2 separate regions of the Homo sapiens genome follow, and region 1 is linked to region 2. The links are contacts of gene promoters, found by promoter capture Hi-C in blood cells and fetal thymus (Javierre and others, 2016). All regions are on one chromosome and are shown on one strand. The core of a region is centred on a gene start or on the middle of the fragment in contact, and the rest is flanking DNA. Distances in the headings are between cores, read along the strand shown.

Region 1 (6,204 bases), core at 850-3,349, 380 kb after region 2:
CTCAGAAACCTTCAGAGGTTGCCCATCACTTGACTATGACACCTAAGCCATGCATTTTGCATTTTGGCCCCTCTCTCTCATCACTCTTCCCCCCAATTACTGGGGCTTGGACTAATCAAAAACATTGGTTGATGGCCAGGAGTGTTGGCTCACATCTGTAATCCCAGCACTTTGAGAGGCTGAGGCAGGTGGATCACCTGAGGTCAGGAGTTCGAGACCAGCCTGGCCAACATGGCGAAACCCTGTCTCTATTAAAAATACAAAAATTAGCTGGGTGTGGTGGCAGGCTGCTGTAATCTCAGCTACTTGAGAGGCTGAGGTGAGAGAATGCTTGAACCCAGGAGGCGGAAGTTGCAGTGAGCCAAAATCATGCCACTGCACTCCACTCCAGCCTGGGCAACAGTGCAAGTCTCAAAAAAAAAAAAAAAACCAAAAAAACAGGCATGGTGGCTCACGCCTGTAATCCCAGCACTTTGGGAGGCCAAGGTGGGCGGATCACCTGAGGTCAGGAGTTTGAGACCAGCCTGACCAACATGGAGAAACCCCATCTCTACTAGAAATACAAAATTAGCTGGGTGTGGTGGCACATGCCTGTAATCCCAGCTACTCGGGAGGCTGAGGCAGGAGAATCCCTTGAACCCGGGAGGCGGAGCTTGCGGTGAGCCAAGATCGCGCACCATTGCACTCCAGCCTGGGCAACAAGAGCAAAACTCCGTCTCAAAAAAAAAAAAAAAAAAAAAAAACAAAAGGCTGATTCCATTACTCTTTCCTCTTTCCTCCCTGCTTTCACTTTGCCGTTCAAACCAAATCCTTCTTGATTAGCTCAGCACCAAGTACTGGCTCCCTCCTCAGCCATCCCTATGTGTAGTTCAGTGGCACTTGGGGCCAACTGCTTGTCTTACAGATTAGGCAACTCTAGATTACAAAGCACTGAAAGCAGGGGCTTCATCTGGTTGGTCTTTGACCCTGCAGAGCCCCTTGCACACAGGTGATGCTCAATAAATACTTGGTGAAAGCACAATTCATTTTCTGTGTTTCAATGGGCTTCTTTTCTCTATAGAATCAGATGCTTGGTTATTCTCACCTCAGCGCTATTTTGTTGGCTTCCAGAAGGCACAGTAACGCTAGGTGTGTTGTGTTCTATCCTTTAATTGGAAGAGCTTTGGGAACTGAAAAATAAGAATTATTTCTCCAAGCCTCATCTTCTGCCACTCCCCCGTACTCACCGGCCTCATACAGGAATTGAACTACTTAGCACTGCACAGAACACGACTTTCTCTCTCACGCCTCCGTTCCTCTGTACTTAGCCTCTGTACTTACGTGCCATTCCCTTTCCCTGAAATGCCCTTACTCTGGCTTCTCTGCCTGGCAAATTCCTACTCATCCTCCAAGACTCAGATCAGACATCGCCGCATCACATCTGTGAAGGCTCTTCTGCAATGGGCAGTGTAGCAGTACCCCCTCCATTTTTTTAGCTTCCTCAGCAAACTCCAAATAATTATAACAGTACTTATGGCATTATTTGTTTATTTTTCTTCTACTTCCTAGACCGTGAATTCCTTAAGGGCCAAGATTTCTGTTCTATCCCCAGCACAGTGTTCGGCCTATATTGGAGAATCCGGTCCGTACAAACTCTGCAGTGATTCAATCAATGAGCAAACAAACTCACCAATCATTCAACACAGCAGAGTTTGTACGGACCGGATTCTCAAATATTTTAAGACCTGGTCCTCTATTTGGAGTGCTTCATTCTGGAAGATCTCTTCCTCCCCCAAGCCCCTACCCATCCAACTGCCTAGGTTTGGTAGAAGAGGAAAATAAAGTGATTAGACGGGGGAAGAGTCCTTCAGGGCTAAGCTGTCATTTACCCGCTCTGGCACCGAGAGGGTTACGGCGACCCGGGGGCGGAGCCGTGCGGAGGCCACCTGCTGCGGGGAGGTCTGGCGCATGCGCCCTGACACCTAGCTGGTTCCCTACCCGCAGGGGCCCGGCTGAGGAGGAGCGCTTGCGCTCTGGGCCTTTTCCGCCGGGGGAAGTCTCGCGGGGGCGGGGCGGGGCCTCGTGGAGAAGTTCTCGCGGGACACCGACGGGGAGCGGAAGCCAGGAGGTATTGCTGCTTCGGCGACCGGGCGGCGGCAGCGGCGGCGGCGGCTGTGGCAGAGTCTGTGCCTGTGGCGGTGACGGCGGCGGGAGCAAGCGCTGCCCTCGCAGAGCAGCCTTGGGGTCGCCGGCCGCTCGCAGCGTTGTGGAGGGGCGGGCCGGACGCTGAGCGGAGCAGCTGCGCCACGGTGAGTACGGGAGGCTGCGCTCGGCGCCTCTCTCGTGCCTTTTCCTCTTGGCTCTACAGCGGGAGTGGGCCCCGGGGGAACCGGGACCGGCCCCGGGGTTCGCGTCGGGGCGGCGAGGCTTGGGACGTGGAGCGCAATCCCCGGGGCTCCGGACTCTACGTTTCCCCTTTTGGGGCGCTTCCTTCCTGGGGACCGTCCTCCTCCGGCTCTTGGCTCTGGGCAGTCCGGGGGAAGAGGTCGGGGTTCTCTGGCGAGGTCCCCTGCCTTCATCGGGAGGGTTTGCACGGAAGGGGCCCGGGAAGCCCAGGCGGGCCGAACGCCGACCGAGTCAGTCTACCCGAGCCTGGCGGCGGGGGACTGGTGTGGGCTGCAGCTGTGGTGATTGATGTGCCTTCGACCTGCACGGCAACCACGTCACCATCTCCTGGCGTCTTTGGGCTTAATTTTGTGCGGGAATCCACTTTGGGGTGGAACGTTTGCTGCTGGAGCCGGGGGAGATACCTTTATTCTGACACTTAAAAAAAAAAACTATTTGAAAAATATTTGTCAAGAAAAATTCAGCAGTAGCAGGTTGGACTGCACCGAGGAAGGATTGCGGCGAGAGCGGGCGCTGGTAATTTTCATTTGCAGCGCGCCCTCTCTATGATTGTAAGCCACACATGAGTTATGGCTTGTTTAGAAAGTTTTTCAAGGCTGGCTTCAAACGCTGTGAAAGTGCAGTTTGCAGGGGACTGAAGTGCACTTGAGGTCTGTCTCTTTTTGATGCTGTTGACTTTCCGAAATGTCAGACACATGAGAGAAATTAGCATTAGTCTATTTTGGCTTTCTTACTCCTCTTTCTCCAGTTATTTCCTTCCTTCTCTATCTGCTTCTGTCCTTTCCACTAGGGACACGAAATGCTTGTGTAATGCAAGTCATTTGCCCCTTCCTCCCCCCACCCCCCCCTTTTTTTCTAATGTACTTCCCCTTCCTCCTTGTAGTCCCCACTCTGGCGTAATTTTTCGAGGTTTCTTCCCTTTCGTGCTGTTCGTTTTCTCTCATTTCAAGATTCCGTCTTTTTCCTCGGGAAGAGACTCTCTTTCCTTGCTTTCGTTCCTTTACTTTTGCGCGTCCCCTGCGTTCCCTGCAGTCAGCCAGAAGGGTTGCTAGAGAGCCGTGGGAGGCTGAAGTCCCCTCTCTGAGAACGGGGAGGCTCAAAAGATTGAATTCATCCCTAAGAAATCAGTCCTGCCACTAGGTCGCAAGTGTGGTTTGCTTGTATTATTTTTGTCTTTTACTCTTTTTCTTTTAAGATTATGCTTCTGTGCCTGCTTATGTTTTCTTCTAGTATGTCTTTATAATAGGAAGATTGGGTCAGCTCAGTGACTTTTTTTTTTTAGGCAGAGTTTTGCTCTTTTTGCCCAGGCTGGAGTGCAATGGTGCTATATGGGCTCACTGCAACTCTGCCTCCTGGGTTCAAGCGATTCTCCTGCCTCAGCCTCCCGAGTAGCTGGGATCACAGGCGCCCACCACCATGTCCAGCGAATTTTGTATTTTTAGTAGAGATGGGGTTTCACTGTGTTGCCCAGGTTGGTCTTGAACTCTTGACCTCAGGTAATCCACCCGCCTTGGCCTCCCAAAGTGTTGGGATTACAGGCGTGAGCCACCGCGCCCGGCCAGAGTTAATTCTTATAATCAGCTTTCTTCTACTAAACACAAGCATTTATTTATTTATTTTATTTTTTTGAGACGGAGTCTCGCTCTGTCGCCCAGGCTGGAGTGCAGTGGTGCGATCTCGGCTCACTGCAGCTTCCACCTCCTGGGTTTAAGCGATTCTCCTGCCTCGCACTCCCGAGTAGCTGGGATTACAGGTGCTCACCACCACACCTGGCTAATTTTTGTATTTTTGTAAAGACAGAGTTTCACCATGTTGGCCAGGCTGGTCTCGAATTCCTGACCTCAAGTGATCTGCCCATCTCAGCCTTGGGATTACAGACATGAGCCACTGCGCCCGGCCTGAACTCAAACGTTTAAATGTTTGAGGCACTTTACTTCGTCAGCAAGTTATTCAGATTTGAGAGGCTTGCTGGGTTTTAAATACTACTGGTTGATGGTACTTAGAGATTCTTCTCAGTAATTGCTGTTATCATGTTGCATGTTGTCCATCAGAGTTCTAATTGTTACACATACAACAGAAGAGGAATGGATTTTGGAGAAATGAAGTAATACAGAATAGAGAGTCACCATGCCCTCCGGAGAGAAATTAATACTTGCTTAATTCAGAGGAACTCTCCACCATTACTGAATGGCTTTTGAGAGTCTGTATATATATATATATTTATATATATATATATTTTTTTTGGTCAAAGTTGCCTTTTTCCTAGTTGTGCCAAGTGAATACGCATTATTTTCTTTTTCCTTTTTTTTTTTTTTTGAGACAGATTCTCGCTCTTGTTGCCCAGGCTAGAGTGCAGTGGCACGATCTCAGGTCACCACAACTTCCACCTCCTGGGTTCGGGCAATTCTTCTGCCTCAGCCTCGCTAGTAGCTGGGATCACAGGCATGCACCACCACGCCTGGCTAATTGTGTATTTTTAGTAGAGACAGGGTTTCTCCATGTTGGTCAGGCTGGTCTGGAACTCCCGACTTCAGGTGATCCACTCACCTCAGCCTCCCAAAGTGCTGGGATTACAGGCGTGAGCCACCGCGCCCGGCCAATATGCATTATTTTCATTTCATGCAAGGACATTGTAGTGCATTATCTGGAATGCAAATTTTAAAATCTGGTTAAGGCATCCTTATGGTATAGCAGTTATTTAAAATTTAGTATCCATAAAAATCACTGGGAGATCTTTTTAAAATTAGGTTCTGGTAGAACTCCAGGATGTACCCCACAGTGAATCAGTCTCTGAATGGGTGGATTTTGATACAGATGGTCTAAGGATCAAAACTGTTGTTACCAAATGCAGCCATAAATAATAAGACTGCTGTGTGGCTTTAAGTAATTCAACTTAAAATTACATTTTTCTGTGTATACACAAAGTCAGTATTTAGAATAGCCTAATGGAATGAGTGACTATAAGCATGATTCATTTTTACATGTGTAAATTTTTTAGCATTCTTAATACTGTGATGTGGAGTGATTTAACTTGAAATTTATACTTAATAGGGTCATTAATTTGCCTACCAGAGAATTCTTCTGAGTCTGTAGACTCAGACGAAAGATTTTTCAGCTTTACAGTGGTGTGAAAGCAATAGCGCTCAGTAAAAACTATACTTCCAGTACCCATATAACTGTTTTGTTTTTCACTCTCAGTACCATAGTCAGTAAATTACAGGAGATATTCATCACTTTGTTATAAAATGGGCTTTGTGTTAGATGATTTTGCTTAACTGTAGGCTAATGTGTTTGGAGCACATTTAAGGTAAGGTAGGCTAGGCTAAGCTGTGGTGTTTGGTAGGTTAGGTGTATTAAAATGCATTTCCATGTAACAATATTTTCAACTGATGATGGTTTCATCAGGATATCTGCCTATGCAGATGGAAGCTCCACATTTACTCTTAGAACATGTAGGCTAGTATTTGAAAAGAGACTGAAAATACTAGTTAAGGTCTCTGGCTTATACTACATTATAATAATAAAATCATCACAGCCCACACTATAGTGGATAATTAGTTAGCTCAGTCTTTTGGAGAGAGCCAGAGACTTCTGCCAAGCATTTTACAACCATTATCTCTTTTAATTATCAAAATGACTTTATAAGGTAGTTGGCTGTTATTATTCCCATTTTCCAGTTAAGGGATACTAGGGATTACAGAGTATAAGTTACTTCTCCAGTGTCCCCTCATTAGTAAGTGGAAAGTGACATTTGAATCCAAGTCTAACTCCAGAGCGTCAGTAAGCTTTTTGGTTTGTGTTGTAACTACAAAAGTAACA
Region 2 (5,727 bases), core at 672-3,171:
CGCCAGCACACCCAGCTAATTTTTTGTATTTTTAGTAGAGACGGGGTTTTGCCATATTGGGCAGGCTGGTCTCTTCACTCCTGACCTCATGCGATCCGCCTCGGCCTCCCAAAATGCTGTGATTACAGGCGTGAGAGCTACCACGCCCGGCAGGAAAGACAGGTTTTAAACAAATGAGCATCAAGAGGACAAAGACTCAGATACTGACATTTAATCAGCTGTTCACTTGTTTCACCTGTCAATTCCAAAATAAGAAAGCCTTTCTATTACAGATTCCATAGTATGCTCAATGACAACACAACACAGAAACACAAGTTGCTGAAGCCAAGACTCTCGTGACTCAAAATGTGTTTATTTTGCTAAAAACAGTGATCTGAGCAACCAGAGATTATAAAGAAGTTCCAATTACGTGAAGTTTCCAGATTCGAAAATCAAGACTACACCATTCAACTCATCAGTAGTCTTTGAGCTAAGAACATCTCACCAAAATCAATGGAAAGACTGCGAAAGATCTCCAGTAAGAAAGGACCAGGAAAGCAATGTCCATATCAGAAAAGGAATGGTTAACGTGAGTCAGACTGTAGTCAAGAAGCTTAAATGATTTCAGCCAACAACAAAGAATCCCACAAAGAAACCATACACTTCCTATAACCAATGTTCCCCAACCCCAGAACAGTTTCCCAAGGTCTTCTATAACAAGAGTTCCTCCTGACTGGTTTGAGTTCTTTCTACTCCAACAGATGATTCTGTTCTTCGTTCACTGAACAACTTAAGAGCTGTTCAACCCCCCAGGTTCCAAAACCTCTCGCAGCTGGGGATCCTTTTAAACATGCACATCACTCAGGAGCCCATGGGGATGAGAGGCATTCACAGAGCATCAGGGAAAATGGAAAGCAACATTTTGCTTAACAGGAGAAACCGCCCCTTATTCATCTTTCTCCCACATCACCTAACTCTAGGGAATGCTTAACGTGGCTTGAAGGAAATGAAGACAGCGACCTAAAAGCACACAGATGCAAGACTTCCAGGAAGAGGTTTTCCCATCCTGCTGGACTCCTGTAGTGTCAGTATTTGGGGCTCCCTCTAATGCTACATTTCTGCTGAGCCTGCAGACATACTTGGAACCCATCACCTTCGGGCTCCCAGACTCAGGCTCCGCACAGCCCGCGAGGGAAACGGTCATGGGCACGCACGGACACGTTTCCATCTTTGCATGTTTATCTACGTCGACTGTGAATTCAAGCAAGTGTGGCCCTCGTGGACAACCTACGAGCCTTAGGGACACAAAAGGCTTCCTGCGCAAACTGCACGGAATCTCCTGACAGGACTTCACGTTAATCATCATTCATAGGTGGGTTCTGGGGCTGGACCCCACGGAACTCCTCTTGGTTGTGTCTTGGACTTCTCACTGCCCCAAAGGAGCCTACTACTGTGGTTTTATGGTCTGAGGAACAGTTAGGCCTCGAAGGCCTGGCCTAGGGAGAGTGCACTCTGCATCCCGAGCTCCCGCCTTCCCCACTCGGCGGCCGGGACCGAGTTTCCCGCCCCACAGCCCGACCAGAGGTTGGTGGCAGTTGGAGGCAGTTGGGACCGGCCCCAGCAGGTTGGAACCGGTCTGGGCCGGGCCGGAGGAGGAAGGGGGGGAGGAAGAGGCCGCCTCGCGCTCTCCCTGCGCGCGTGACTCACGCTGGCCGCTGACGTCAGGCGTGCGCGCGCGGCGGGGGGGGGGGGGCTCTACGTACGTGTAGTGCTGCGGTTTCTCGGGCTGTGCCTGCAGCACCTGAGCGGTAGCGGCCGGGGGCGCCGAGGAAGCTGCGGAGCCGCCGGGCCCGGGGCCCTTCGACATGGTCTTGTCTTCCTGCCTCTTCGCCGCTCCCCTTTTATTATTCAGTCTGCGCGGTCCGCGCCGAGGACCCAGTGCGCCTGCGCCGCGCCACGAGAACGTGAAGACCCCCCACACGGCAGCAGGGGTTGCTGGGAGTTGTGGTTCTATGTCCGGCTGGAATTTTACCGTCGGCAGAGGGTTGCTGGCAAAGCACAGGACCACAATACCCAGGGATCCTTGCTGCTAGTGTCCCGGATGCTGAGGGCCTGCGACGGCTTCTGGGAATTGCAGTCCGGTCGCATTTCTCCTTCTTACCAGCGCGTTTTCAGTTTCATAGGGAAGCCTTTCCATGAAACTGGAGCGCCTGGAGGAGAAGGGGCCCAGAGCTAGGGAGGCCCTAGCGATTTCTGCGAAAGAGTTCCAAGTATAATTTCACTGCCAACAGTGTCATAACTACTTTGCCTTTATACTTAGTACAGCTAGGTTCGGTTCTAATGCCAGCTCAGAGCAGTGCTCCAAGCAGGGCTTAAGAATCTGTGTTGTCGGTTCTTAGTTCTGGGCCCTGTGCTGCAGGCACCTGCAATCCGCCAGCAACCCCTTCATCCCTGCGGCGGGTCTAACCTAAGAGGCATTGAGAAAGCTTTGCTAAGGAGGAGGTACACCGCACGCTACAGTTCCCGCGCCTTTGCCGAGGCGCTTCATTTACCTTTGCCAAACTCGACACCTGGAACTCCACGACTTGTGTGCTTTCTCAGCCTGACACCTGGCCTGACCAACTTGTTTCCAGTACATTAAGGGCCAAGGACGAATTTAATCTCCGCCTAGAATAGTCTCTGAGGTACACTGACAAGTTGCCAGTGTTGAGAAGCATCACAGGGTCCAGAGGAAAGGCCTGGGTTTGAGTAGGGCGTGCCCGTATTTATCCACTCTAGTTTTCTTGTCTGGACGTCAGCCTTTTTACTTGGGACATTATCTTTCCCCTCTCTGCTTCCCACCAGTCAAGCAAAGTTCTTCACTTTATAAAATAAGCCAGATGCCCCAGACCTAGGCATTTGTTTCTGTGAGTTTTAGAATGTTCTCCGTAGATATTTTAACCGTTGTCATTTAATTTGGTTTTTCATATTGAATCTATTTCAAATCCACTGGTTTTGATTTATATTTTCTTAGATGGGATTATATTAACAAATGATTATCTCATTAAAGAAACACATTCCAAATAACCTTAGGGATGAAGGGTGGTGGGGCTAATGGAAAATCGTTAATGTTTGAGTGACACATACTTATTTTATTTAGCTCCAAGTTCCCTCACATCAGAAGCCACATCACAGAGTTGAGAAACTGGTTTTTCCTAAACAGGCTAAATCGTTTAGCCACTAGGGGCGTTTGAAAATGAAAAATTACAAAAGGACAAATAAAAGTTGTAGTATATTGCTTTAATCCTATGATTAAACGCAAGTTACTTGGTTTATGTTAGCCTCACAATACTCAAGTGTGATCTGACTGAAGAAATAGAGTTCACAGCACTGGATTTTAAATAATAGATGTATATCATGAGCTTCAGAATAAGTGTGTACTGGTGGAGTTGGGAGATGATATCATCCAAACTGCTTAATTTACAAAAGAGGAAACCGAAACCCAGAGAAGCTAAGTAACTTGCACAAAGTTACTCAGCAAGTTGGTAACAAGAGGAACTAGGACAGTAGCCTACAAGACTACATCACATTCACTGTTGGGTTTTGTTTGTTTTGTTTTCTTCTGCTTTTTTTCATTGTATAAACATTTTTTATTCTTCCTCATTTCCTGTGTTGCTTTTCCTCCGTTGTACCAATCTGGAAAAAGTGAAACATACCTGCATGACTACGAAGTAAGAGAGACAGCCTTTTTTTTTTTTTTTTTTTTTTTTTTTTGAGGCAGAGTCTTGCTCTGTTGCCCAGGCTGGAGTGCAGTGGTGTGATTTCGGCTCACTGCAACCTCTGCCTCCCAGGTTCAAGCAATTCTCCTGCCTCAGCCTCCTGAGTAGCTGGGATTACAGGTGTGTGCCACCACGCCCACCTGATTTTTGTAGTTTTAGTAGAGACGTGGTTTCACCATGTTGGTCAGGCTGGTCTCGAACTCCTGACCTCACGATCCACCCTCCTCAGCCTCCCAAGAGCTGGGATTACAGGCGTGAGCCACTGCGCCCGGACTCCTGTTTCCACGAATCATACTTAAATGGATAAATGTATATCCATACCTTTTTTCTCCGGGTGGCTTTAGTTTCTAATAATCAGCAAAGCTGGAAAGAAAATGACTGTCCATCCACACAAAGGCATGGAAATGACAGGATTCTGTATAACCTAGAAAAATCGTGAAACACAGCAGGGAGTGGTGGCTGAAGCCTGTAATCCCAGCACTTTGGGAGGCCGAGGTGGGCGGATCACAAGGTCAGGAGATCGAGACCATCTTGGCTAACATGGTGAAACCCTTGTCTCTACTAAAAATACAAAAAAATTAGCCAGGCGTGGTGGCGGGCGCCTGTAGTCCCAGCTACTCAGGAGGCTGAGGCAGGAGAATGGTGTGAACCTGGGAGGCGGAGCTTGCAGTGAGCCGAGATGGCGCCACTGCACTCCAGTCTAGGCGACAGAGCAAGACTCCATCTCAAAAAAAAAAAAAAAAAAAAAAATCGTGGAACACAAAGTGGGGGACCAATTTAGAAAGCCTATTCCTCTTCTAGGCCAAAGTCAAAAAAAAAAAAAAAAAAAAGATGACAAGTTATTTTTCTGTTTGCATCCCAGAGAATTTGACAGCCTCATATGTGTGTCTAAACAGTCCCCTGTTTCTTAACTTGACACAGGTTTGAGAATAAAGCATGAGAATCCACCTAGGTTTCTCTTCTCAGCATGGCATTAATAAAATCATGTAATTTTTCCCTACCTCAAATTTTGAGTCAAAGGCAGAAATCAAAGTTGGTTATCACAGTAAATTTAGGTATATGATGATTAAATACATAATGTGCACGTTAAGATTAAGAAGGCTGGCTGAGCGCGGTGGCTCACGCCTGTAATCCCAGCACTTTGGGAGGCGAGAGGCAGGCGGACCACGAGGTCCAGAGATCGAGACCATCTTGGCCAACATGGGAAACCCTGTCTCTACTAAAATACAAAAAATTAGCCGGGCATGGTGGCGCATGCCTACAATCCCAGCTACTTGGGAGGCTGAGGCAGGGGAATCGCTTGAACCCAGGAAGTGGAGGTTGCATGGAGCTGAGATCGCGCCACTGCACTCCAGCCTGGCAGCAGAGCAAGAGTCCGTCTCAAAAAAAAAAAAAAAAAAATTAAGAAGGCTGAAATAATAACAGGAATTTGATACCAGAGATTGAGATGAAGCTGAGCTAGTTTTTCAAAGTGTGCATTTTTTTCTCATTGTTTGATACTTGACCACTGGTGTGACAAGTCAATATTGAGGTATTTGTACTTACGTACTGTAATTCTCTGAAGGTCAGGCATGGTGGCTCATGCCTGTAATCCTAGCACTTTGGGAGGCTGGGGCAGAAGGATTGCTTGAGTCCAGGAGGTCAAAACTGCAGTGAGCCGTGGTCACTGCACCACTGCACTCTAGCATGGGTGACTGGGCAAGACCCCACTTCAAAAAAAAAAAAAATTACCGGCCAGGGGCGGTGGCCCATGCCTGTAATCCCAGCACTTTGGGAGGCCAAGGCGGGTGGATCACAAGGTCAGGAGATCAAGACCATCTTGGCTAACACGGTGAAACCCCGTCTCTACTAAAAATACAAAAAAATTAGCCGGGCGTGGTGGCAGGCGCCTGTAGTCCCAGCTACTCGGAGGCTGAGTCAGGAGAATGGTGTGAACCCAGGAGGCGGAGCTTGCAGTGAGCTGAGATCGTGCCACTGCACACCAGCCTGG

Evidence for each region. Contacts are between HindIII fragments. The CHiCAGO score rates a contact against its expected background, and 5 or more counts as called.
Region 1: a contact is called between the fragment with the promoter of GRB2 here and the fragment with the promoter of UNK in region 2, in 4 of 17 cell types (total CD8 T cells, naive CD4 T cells, naive CD8 T cells and 1 more). The highest score is 6.3, in total CD8 T cells.

What each region holds. Positions count from the first base shown.
Region 1 is chr17:75,401,573-75,407,776 of GRCh38, reverse strand. It overlaps GRB2 (growth factor receptor bound protein 2), which reads left to right and starts at 2,099. Exons shown (of 6, transcript NM_002086.5): 1 at 2,099-2,288. MIR3678 (microRNA 3678) reads right to left here and starts at 1,708; the gene lies at 1,615-1,708. RefSeq lists a silencer at 1,862-2,041. The HindIII fragment of the contact is 6,780 bases long and covers 1-6,172 here.
Region 2 is chr17:75,781,000-75,786,726 of GRCh38, reverse strand. UNK (unk zinc finger) reads right to left here and starts at 1,921. Exons shown (of 16, transcript NM_001080419.3): 1 at 1,743-1,921. The coding sequence starts at 1,846. It overlaps MIR4738 (microRNA 4738), which reads left to right and starts at 2,120; the gene lies at 2,120-2,206. RefSeq lists enhancers at 671-1,248, 1,260-1,659, 1,249-1,827, 3,390-3,569 and a silencer at 1,720-1,859. The HindIII fragment of the contact is 1,873 bases long and covers 595-2,467 here.